Regions from separate parts of the Homo sapiens genome. Here regions 1 and 2 are each linked to region 3. The links are contacts of gene promoters, found by promoter capture Hi-C in human tissues and cell types (Jung and others, 2019). All regions are on one chromosome and are shown on one strand. Each heading gives the region's core, a stretch centred on a gene start or on the middle of the fragment in contact. The rest is flanking DNA. Distances are from core to core; before and after follow the strand shown. Region 1 holds the start of OR10H2 (olfactory receptor family 10 subfamily H member 2). Region 2 holds the start of CYP4F22 (cytochrome P450 family 4 subfamily F member 22). Region 3 has its middle 3.9 kb from the start of CYP4F8.

The links. The method cuts DNA at HindIII sites, captures the fragments that hold promoters and counts their contacts. A contact is called where the count stands out against the background at its distance.
Region 1: a contact is called between the fragment with the promoter of OR10H2 here and a fragment that was not itself captured in region 3, in 4 of the 25 tissues and cell types used here (adrenal gland, mesendoderm cells, small bowel and 1 more).
Region 2: a contact is called between the fragment with the promoter of CYP4F22 here and a fragment that was not itself captured in region 3, in 4 of the 25 tissues and cell types used here (H1 embryonic stem cells, dorsolateral prefrontal cortex, mesendoderm cells and 1 more).

What each region holds. Positions count from the first base shown.
Region 1 is chr19:15,726,375-15,729,540 of GRCh38, forward strand. OR10H2 (olfactory receptor family 10 subfamily H member 2) reads left to right here and starts at 1,650. Exons shown (of 1, transcript NM_013939.2): 1 at 1,650-2,678. The coding sequence starts at 1,670. The coding sequence ends at 2,617. The HindIII fragment of the contact is 21,841 bases long and covers 1-3,166 here.
Region 2 is chr19:15,507,187-15,510,441 of GRCh38, forward strand. It overlaps CYP4F22 (cytochrome P450 family 4 subfamily F member 22), which reads left to right and starts at 1,339. Exons shown (of 14, transcript NM_173483.4): 1 at 1,339-1,397. RefSeq lists an enhancer at 983-1,483. The HindIII fragment of the contact is 20,579 bases long and covers 1-3,255 here.
Region 3 is chr19:15,609,559-15,612,991 of GRCh38, forward strand. It overlaps the pseudogene RPL23AP2. Among named protein-coding and RNA genes, the nearest start is that of CYP4F8, 3.9 kb to the right of the region's middle. The HindIII fragment of the contact is 7,491 bases long and covers 1-3,433 here.

The sequences.
Region 1 (3,166 bases), core at 400-2,899, 120 kb after region 3:
CTCAGGGAAGGTGATGAGAGAAGCCATGGCTGATAGCCTAGGTTTTTGCTGTTAGGTTTGGGATTGGAGGATTGGGGTTGGGGTCAAAAAGAGGAGGAGACCAGCAGAGTCACGTAGTGGAAGCATGCTGGGCCCATAGCCTAGAGGTCAGTGGACCATAACCATTTTCTGCTAAGAAGTTTTTGACTGGGCATGGTGGCTCACACCTATAAATCCCAGCACTTTGGGAAGCTGAGGCAGGCTGATCACTTGAACTCAGAAGTTCAAGACCAGCCCGAGCAACATGGTTAAACCCCATCTCTACTAAAAATACAAAAATTAGCCAGGTGTGGTGATGCGGGCCTGTAATCCCAGCTACTCAGGAGGCGGAGGCAGGAGAATTGCTTGAACCCAGGAGGCGGAGGTTGCAGTGAGCCGAGATCATGCCACTGCATTCCAGCAGGGACAGAGTGAGACTCTGTCTCAAAGAAAAAAAAAAAAAAAAGCGGAATTGTGATAGAGAAAGAGTAATTCACACAGAGCTGGCTCTGCAGGGGACTGGAGTTTTATTATTACTCAAATCAGTCTCCCTGAGCACTTGGGGAGCAGAGTTTTTAAGGACAACTTGGTGGGTGGAGGGGAAGCCAGTGAGCCAGCAGTGCTGATTGGTCAGAGATGAAATCAAAGCTGTCTTCTTGCGGAGAGTCAGTTCCTGGGTGGGGGCCACAAGATCAGTTGAGCCAGTTTATCGACCTGGGTGGTGCCAGCTGATCCATCAAGTGCAGGATCTGCAAAATATCTCAAGCACTGATCTTGGGAGCAATTTAGGGAGGGTCAGAATCTTGTAGCCTCCAGCTGCATGACTCCTAAACCATAATTTCTAATCTTGTGGCTAATGTTAGTTCTACAAAGGCAATCTAATCCCCAGACAAGAAGGAGGTCTGCTTTGGGAAAGGGCTGTTATCGTCCTTGTTCCAAACTATAAACTATAAACTATAAACTAAATTTCCCCCAAAGTTAGTTCACCCTATGTCCTGGAATGAACAAGGACAGCTTGGAGGTTAGAAGCAAGATGGAGTTGGTTAAGTTAGATCTCTTTCGCTGTCTCAGTCATAATTTTGCAAAGGTGGTTTCAATTTTCCAGGGGAGCAATGAGGCTCAGAGAGGGGAAGCAACCTGCCCTGCATCTCACAGCTAGAAAGCAGTGGTGCCGAGAATTAAACAGAGTCTGGACGTTTCCATGACATAGGGAAGAGATGACTTCCAGCTGAAGGTGGCAATCAGGGAGCAGCTTGCTCATAAAATTCAGGTAGGATTTGGACCCATAAAGATAGGGAAAAGCATGAAAAGACCAGCATGAACAAAGGCAGAAAAGCAAGGTGTAGGTGGTGGTGCATGGATCTAATAATCGTGATGGCAATAACAATAGCAGAATAATTATTACTATCAACATTTATAATTTATTAAATTCTTACTTTGTGTCAGGACCTGCACAAAGCACTTAAGGTGAGTGATCTTATTTAAACCTCAATACATTATTATTAATGCCTTTCTGCAGATGGAGTAACCATGGCTTGGACAGATGAAGGAGGCGCTCTCAGATGTCCTCCCAGGCAGGAATCACTAGACACCCCCATGCTCCTAACCACTGGGTCTTCTTTCCTCTCTTCCCCAACTAGGGGTGGCCGTCATGCTGGGGCTAAACCACACCTCCATGTCTGAATTCATCCTCGTCGGCTTCTCTGCCTTCCCCCACCTCCAACTGATGCTCTTCCTGCTGTTCCTGCTGATGTACCTGTTCACGCTGCTGGGCAACCTGCTCATCATGGCCACCGTCTGGAGCGAGCGCAGCCTCCACACGCCCATGTACCTCTTCCTGTGCGTCCTCTCAGTCTCCGAGATCCTCTACACCGTGGCCATCATCCCGCGCATGCTGGCCGACCTGCTGTCCACCCAGCGCTCCATCGCCTTCCTGGCCTGTGCCAGTCAGATGTTCTTCTCCTTCAGCTTCGGCTTCACCCACTCCTTCCTGCTCACCGTCATGGGCTACGACCGCTACGTGGCCATCTGCCACCCCCTGCGCTACAACGTGCTCATGAGCCCACGGGGCTGCGCCTGCCTGGTGGGCTGCTCCTGGGCTGGTGGCTCGGTCATGGGGATGGTGGTGACCTCGGCCATTTTCCAACTGACTTTCTGTGGATCCCATGAGATCCAGCATTTTTTATGTCATGTGCCACCTCTGTTGAAGTTGGCCTGTGGAAATAATGTACCAGCTGTGGCCCTGGGCGTGGGCTTGGTATGTATCATGGCACTGCTGGGCTGTTTTCTCCTCATCCTCCTCTCCTATGCCTTCATCGTGGCCGACATCTTGAAGATCCCTTCTGCTGAAGGTCGGAACAAGGCCTTCTCCACCTGTGCCTCTCACCTTATTGTGGTCATTGTGCACTATGGCTTTGCCTCTGTCATCTACCTCAAGCCCAAAGGTCCCCACTCTCAGGAGGGTGACACCCTGATGGCCACCACCTACGCAGTCCTCACGCCCTTCCTCAGCCCCATCATCTTCAGCCTCAGGAACAAAGAACTGAAGGTTGCCATGAAGAGGACCTTCCTCAGCACACTCTATTCCTCAGGCACCTGAGTAGCTGGTGTGGAAGTGCTGATAGAATATGATAGGAGGATGACCATCACCTTGTCTGCACAGTGTGGCTAGTAATGCTTACCTTGTAAGGCAGGTGTAAAGATTTCTGTATATGACAACACTCATCACATAGTAGGTGCTCAGTAAATGTTAAAAGCATGTTTACTTCCACAACTCTTGATCTGTATGTCTTTATCTGAGTTTTAATTTTTGAGTTATAGTAGCTTTATTAAGATGTAATTCACCTACCATACAATGTACCCATTAGAGCGCACATTTCTGTGGTTTTTGCGTATTCAGAGTTATGCAACCATCATGACAATCTGGCTTAGAGTATTTTAGTCATCCAAAAAAGAAACCCAAATCCTAGTGCTTTGGAAGGCTGAGTGGGAGAATTGTTTGATGTCAGGAATTCACGATCGGTCTGGACAACATAGTGAGATGCCATCTACACACACACACAAACACATACACACACACAAGTTCTTTTTTTTTTAATTTATTACACTTTAAGTTTTAGGGTACATATGCACTACGTACAGGTTAGTT
Region 2 (3,255 bases), core at 89-2,588, 100 kb before region 3:
GAGGCTGAGGCAGGAGGATGGCTTGAGCCCAGGAGTCACCCCAGCCTGGATGACAGAGTGAGACCAATCAACTAACAGGGGGCACCTCCCCTACTCAAGCACCATCCATGGCTCCCCACTGCCCACCAGATCAAGATCCAGCCATTCAAACTGGCCTTCACAGTCAACTCCTGCATCCCTCCAGCCTCCACACCTCTCACACTCCAAGGCCAGGGAAAGCCATCTGCTAAGTCACACCCTCCAGTTTCTCTGTGCTTGAGCTCTACCCCCTCTCCTGCACTTGTTGAAATCCAACCTCTCCATGCAGTCCCAGCTCAAGTGTCACATCCTCCACGTCGCCTTCCCTGACCTCATGTCTGCCTCCTCCAAGCAGCAAAACTTCAATTACTTGTGTCTCCTCTTCTTCACCAGGAGACATGCCCCACACCTCCCACGCCCTCTTTCCAAGGGCCCAGCACCAAATGAGAGCGTATTCTTAGAAAAAAGAGGGATAAGGAAGTCTTCTAAGTTTACCACCTGCTGGGGCAAGTGGAGATTCTTGTCTTCTCATCTGTCTGCCCACGTGCTAAGGTCAGCCACACATCCACCCACCGACTCCGGAGGACAGACACATCCAGAGGCGGAGCTGACTCTGTCTCCACACATCTGGAGTAGACGGGTTGGCCAAGGACAACATCCTGGTCAGAGGGTCAAGGTGTCTGGCAGTGGGTGGGGAGGAGTGGCGGAGGGCGGGTTGGCGGGGAGCAGAACCAGTCTGGTGCTGCTTGTTGAGGTTGGAGGTCTTCCTGGAGGAAGAGGCTGCAGAGCCTCCAGGGGTGGGTGCCGGGGAAGCTTAGGCCCAGGATCCAGAGAGAGGGGAAGGGCTGGTTCCCAAGGGCTGGTGGAGCCAGAGAATTCCTGAGGGCCCCAGAGGAGGCTTCTCGGGGGGGTCAGTGGGGCCCCAGGGGGTGATGGTTTAGAGATCGCTGTCCAAGCTTGGGAGCAAACCTGGAAGTAAGGGCCATGGGGGGTGTTGGTGTGGGAGGAGTGTGGTCCAGAGCGGGACTTGGGCGCTAATGCGGCCCAGCAGTGGCAGGAGGGCGGGGAGCCTGATGGTTTGGGACTTCTAGGTGTCCAAGTCTCTGTCTCTCTTCATCTCTCCATCTCAGTCTCAGTCTCTCTCTCTTTCCATCGCTCTCCACCCCTCCACACGCCTATTTCTTGTTCTCTCCTTTTCTAGGGGGCAGCGCTGGAGTCCCCGCCCAGAACCCTGCGGGAGCCCGGGGCGGGATGTCCGGGGGCGGACCCCTCGGCACGGCCGGGCGGGGTTAAAGGGTTGGGCCGTGGGACGGCGCGGTCAGATCCCAGGTAGTGGCGCCGGTGGATCCGGATCGAGGGCAGGAGGCTGAGACCCGCGGGTGAGTGCGCGCGTGGTGAGGGCTGTAACCTGAGCGCGGCCGCGGCGCTGCGCTGGAACCCGAGGCTCGCGCGGTTCGGTGCTGGCGGGGCAAGGGCGAAGGTCTGCGCGCGGCGGCGGGCGGGGCGCAGCCGGCCACGGGGACCCCCCCAGGACCCAGGACGGGGCTGCATGCCCGGGGCACTCGTGGGGAGAGGGGCACGTGGGTGTGTCCCCGACGTTTGCTGCATTTGTGAGTTGTTTTCTTTTTTTTTTTTTCTGTGTGCGCCTCGGAGTCCTAGGCGCATCCTTTTCTCTGGGTATCTGTGATGGGCAGGGGGCCTCCAAAAGACCCCTCTGGTAGTCAGGACATCCCAGATGGGTTCAAGCCCCGCCCTGGGACGCCTCTTTGGGGCTGAATGGGGATTCGCCCTGAGATTTCACCACTGCACGTTGTCTTGACGGGGAGGTTGTAGTACATTCAACCGATGGGGTTAGGCTTGTGGTTCAACTGCTATCAGGAACCCTCTGCCCATCCATGCCAGACGCAGAGCCCCTCTATGAAAAGACGGTGTTCTTCTGGCCCCGAGAGTTGGCTCTGAGGGTTGTGTGAGGTCCTGGGGTTGGTCCCAGGTGATCTTCGTCTGATAGATGCTGGAAGGAAGATGTTTTCTGGCCTCCCAGGGGCCTGGCCCAGCCTGGGTATGCAAGTTGGCCGAGGCTGGCCACCTGGGGAGTCGCAGGCTGGAGAGGCCTAGGCTCAGGGCATCTCTCCTGGTTCATCTGCCCGCTCACAGCTCATTCATGCACTCATTGTGAGTCTCACCGCCCTGTAGGCAAAGGAGATGGCCAGGGCTGGCTGCGTACCCGAAATTCCTCCTACCCTGTGCCCCTTGCTCCACCCCTTATTTCTAGGTCCTGGAGCTGTGCCCAGCCAGGGCTGGCAGCATCAAACTCCTTCTTGTGTAACTCCAAACCCCAAAGAGAAGGAACCTCCCCAAATCTTCCCTACCACCCTCATTTTACAGGCACGGAAACTGAGGGCCAGAGAGAAGAAGCCTGTGCCTGTGGATACCCAGTGCCCAGTGGGAGAGCTGGGATTTGAAAAAACAAGCCCTGTTTGACCCCAAAGCCTCAGTCCACTTTCCGATGTCCCCGGCATCACCAAATGGCCCAGCTTGGGTTTCTGAACAGTAACATTAACTCTGGCCTGGTGTCTGGCGGTGACCCAGGTTGGTATCTGCAGAGGGGCTTGGATGACTTGAGAGGCATTCAGGGAATGGGACCCATCTCTCCTTCCTTCCTTCCTTCCTTCCTTCCTTCCTTCCTTCCTTCCTTCCTTCCTTTCTTTCTTTCCTTCCTTCTTTCTTTCTTTCTTTCTTTCTTTTCTCTGTCTCTCTCTCTTTCTTTCTTTCTTTCTTTTTTTGTTGTTGTTGTTGAGACAGGGTCTCACTTTGTCACCCAGGCAGGAGTGCAGTGGCATAATCATAGCTCACTGCAGCCTCGATCTCCTGGGTTCAAGCAATCCTCCTACCTCAGCCTCCTGAGTATGGAGGACTACAGGCATGCACCACCACTCCTGTCTACTTTTTGTATTTTTGGTAGGGATGGGGTTTCACCATGTTGCCCAGGCTGGTCTTGAACTCTTGGGCTCAAGTGATCCACCCGCCTCAGCCTCCCAAAGTGCTGGGATTACAGGCATGAGCCACTGCGCCTGACTCATCTCTCCTTGTTGATAAAACTTGGACCTGATTCTCCAAACCCCAGATGGCCAGGTCACAATAATGAACGTGATGGCAGCACCAACGGTAATGAGAGATATCATTGATCAAAGGCTTACTATGTGCCTGGAAGATTGCAGCCCCATGAGGTGGGTAAAT
Region 3 (3,433 bases), core at 485-2,984:
AACACTGGCTGATGTACAGTCAGTCTTAACAGGACCCATTTCCCATCCTGGTTGTTTTGAGTGAGACAAGCTATGTTGTGGAGCAAGAGTGCCCTAATGTGATCAAAAAATGATAAAACGAAGGAAAGTTTGTCTCTCCCCAACCCCCTAGAGAAACCATTCACAAAGATCCTATTTTACCCTGCCCTAGAATTCAACAAAAACCCTTACCTTAAATTTGTAGCAGTAGCTCTTATTCTGAGAACATCACTGCACCTCCTAGCCAAGGGGGAAAGCAGCTTCAATAAGGCAGAACTTTGCCTAAAACAGGAAGTTCGTTGATTTCAGGAGAAACTTATCTGTTGCATCCAGCAGGGGCATCCCAGTTGGGGGAACACGATGGATTCCGTGCATGAAGGTTGAAACCTGCTCAGGAAGGTCCAGGGTGACCAGGGAGGCCACTCTGAAACACTGATGACTACATCATTTTGTGGAGTGAAATTAAAGCTGCCGAGGCAGAAATACTTTGATAAGGGTTTATTTGAAGCCAAAGGTGAGGATCAACCCAGAAAGATGCACCAACACATTTGGATGTGTGCCAGAATCTTTTACAATTTGGAATGTTTTTATAAGAAAGTTTAGGAGAAGAGAAGGGAACTTCTTATATCAGAATTGTCTGTTTTTATTGGAGGGTATAATACAGAGGTCATAATGATTAGATACAGGTTATAACATACAGGCTAAAACATTTTGTATGTAAAACCATCAGTGAAACTTTATAAGAGAGGGCACAGTGGCTTATGCCTGTAATCCCAGCACTTTGGGAGGTTGAGACGGGCAGATCCCTTGAGGAGAAGCTCATCGCTCCTGAGGCCAGTAGTTCGAGACCAGCCTAGCCAATATGGTGAAACTCTGCTCTACTAAAAATACAAAAATTAGCTGGGCATGGTGGCACATGCCTGCAATCCCAACAACTCGAGAGGCTGAGGCAGGAAGGTTGCTTGAACCTAGGAGATGGAGGTTGCAGTAAGATGAGACTGCGCCACTGCACTCCAGCCTGGGTGACAAAGACCCTGTCTCAAAAAAAAAAAGAAAAGAAAAGAAAAACTTTATGATTTATAAATATAAAGCAAAACTTCATGGTTTAGAAACAAAGGATTGTGCTTTTCCATATCAGTGGAAAATCAGAACATCAACAGTTGGAAGAACTCATAAGATCTGAGTAATTAAAGATAAGATTTGAGGAACTCACAAGATTCTTTACTCAGGAACAGGATGTAACCCATGCATCAAGAGATCTTTTCCGGGGGCTAATTGGGACTAATGTGACTGGTAGGTTATCAGCAGAGACCACGTCTGTCTTGTTCAACCTGTGTCCCAGGTCCTAGCACCATGCCTGCTACCATTTAAGTGTTCATGTGAAGTTTGTTGTTGAGAAACTAATTACCTAAAAGTTAGAACTTGACCTTTGCATTTTATCGAGGAGGCTATGAGACTCAGAGGGTTACACAGCTAGTGAGTGGCAGAGCCTGGACTTGAACTCAGTTGTGCTGAAGCCAGAATGTGTTCCTTCCTGAGCATTCAAGGACAGGGAAGGTGAAACTCCAGCTAGTGGGCAGCCCGTGTGCTTGTTCTAGGGAGACTGCAGGCCGATTCCTGGGAGCTGGGTCTTCATGGTGACACAGTAAGAACAACTCACCTATTGGCTGGGCGCAGTGGCTCACGCCTGTAATCCCAGCACTTTGGGAGGCCGAGGTGGTTGGATCACTTGAGGTCAGGAGTTGGAGACCAGCCTGGCCAATATGGTGAAACCCTGTCTCTACTAAAAATACAAAAATTAGCTGGGTGTGGTGGCTCATGCCTGTAATCTCAGCTGCTCGGGAGGCTGAGGTAGGATAATCGCTTGAACCTGGTGGGGCGGAGGTTTCAGTGAGCCGAGATTGGCACCATTGCCCTCCAGCCTGGGTGACAAAGTGAGACTCTGTCTCAAAAAACAAAGCAAAGCAAAACAAAACAAAACGAAACAGAACTACTCACCTATGTTGTGGATCAACTGTGTCCCCACTGTACCAAATCCTTATTTATTTAAAAAAATTTGTTTTGGACCCTTTTCACAAGATGGTGCCGAAAGTGAAGAAGGAAGCTCCTGCCCCTCCTAAAGCCGAAGCCAAAGCGAAGGCTTTAAAGGCCAAGAAGGCAGTGTTGAAAGGTGTCCACAGCCACAAAAAGAAGATCCACACGTCACCCACCTTCCGGCGGCCGAAGACACTGCGACTCCGGAGACAGCCCAAATATCCTCGGAAGAGCGCTCCCAGGAGAAACAAGCTTGACCACTATGCTATCATCAAGTTTCCGCTGACCACTGAGTCTGCCATGAAGAAGATAGAAGACAACAACACACTTGTGTTCATTGTGGATGTTAAAGCCAACAAGCACCAGATCAAACAGGCTGTGAAGAAGCTCTATGACATTGATGTGGCCAAGGTCAACACCCTGATTCGGCCTGATGGAGAGAAGAAGGTATATGTTCGACTGACTCCTGATTACGATGCTTTGGATGTTGCCAACAAAATTGGGATTATCTAAACTGAGTGCAGCTGCCTAATTCTGAATATATATATATATATCTTTTCACCATATACATGCCTCTCTGTCAATTTCTGGTTGGGCTGGGAGGCCACACACAGACACTGACATGACAGGGCTTGGGCAAGACTCCTGTTCTACTTATCCTTTTGAAATATTCACCCTGCCACTCCACCATGTGTGATCACTCCAGAGATCTTTGTGACTAGAGTTAGTGTCCTAGGAAAACCAGAACTCAGAACTTGCCTCCATGGTTGAGGGTAACAAGAAGCTGTACAAGAACCCCTTTTATCCCTGGAAGAGGCTGTGTATGAAACCAATGCCCAGGGTTTGAAGGGCGTTAGCATCCATTTCAGGGGAGTGTGGATTGGCTGGCTTTCTGGTAGCATTTTGTCCTCACACACCCATCTACTGTGTCCAACCGGTCTGTCTGCTTCCCTCACCCCTTGCCCAATAAAGGACAAGGACTTCAGAGGAAAAAAAAAATTGTTTTAATTATTACATTTATAGCATCCCAGCTTGAAAAACGAAGCAACAGAGACGTGTAGAAAGTTAAAAGGTTTCTACTCCAATTGTAATTTCTCCAATTCCATCGTGGTATGTGCATTCTTCTGGATTTTTTTCAGTGTGCATACACATGTGTACATACAGACACATACACATACACTCGTACGTTTTTTATATTGATGGGACCATTACTCACATCTTTAATTTGGAACTTATTCTCTGCTCTCTCTCCCTGTGTCTGATAGAATGCTGGCAATGCTTTGTGATGCTTTAGGAGACACATTTGTCAGATGTGAAGACTTAGGCTTAGGAATTGATGGGTGGTGACTGAGGCTGGTCACTCTGTGGTCTGGTGCACTTT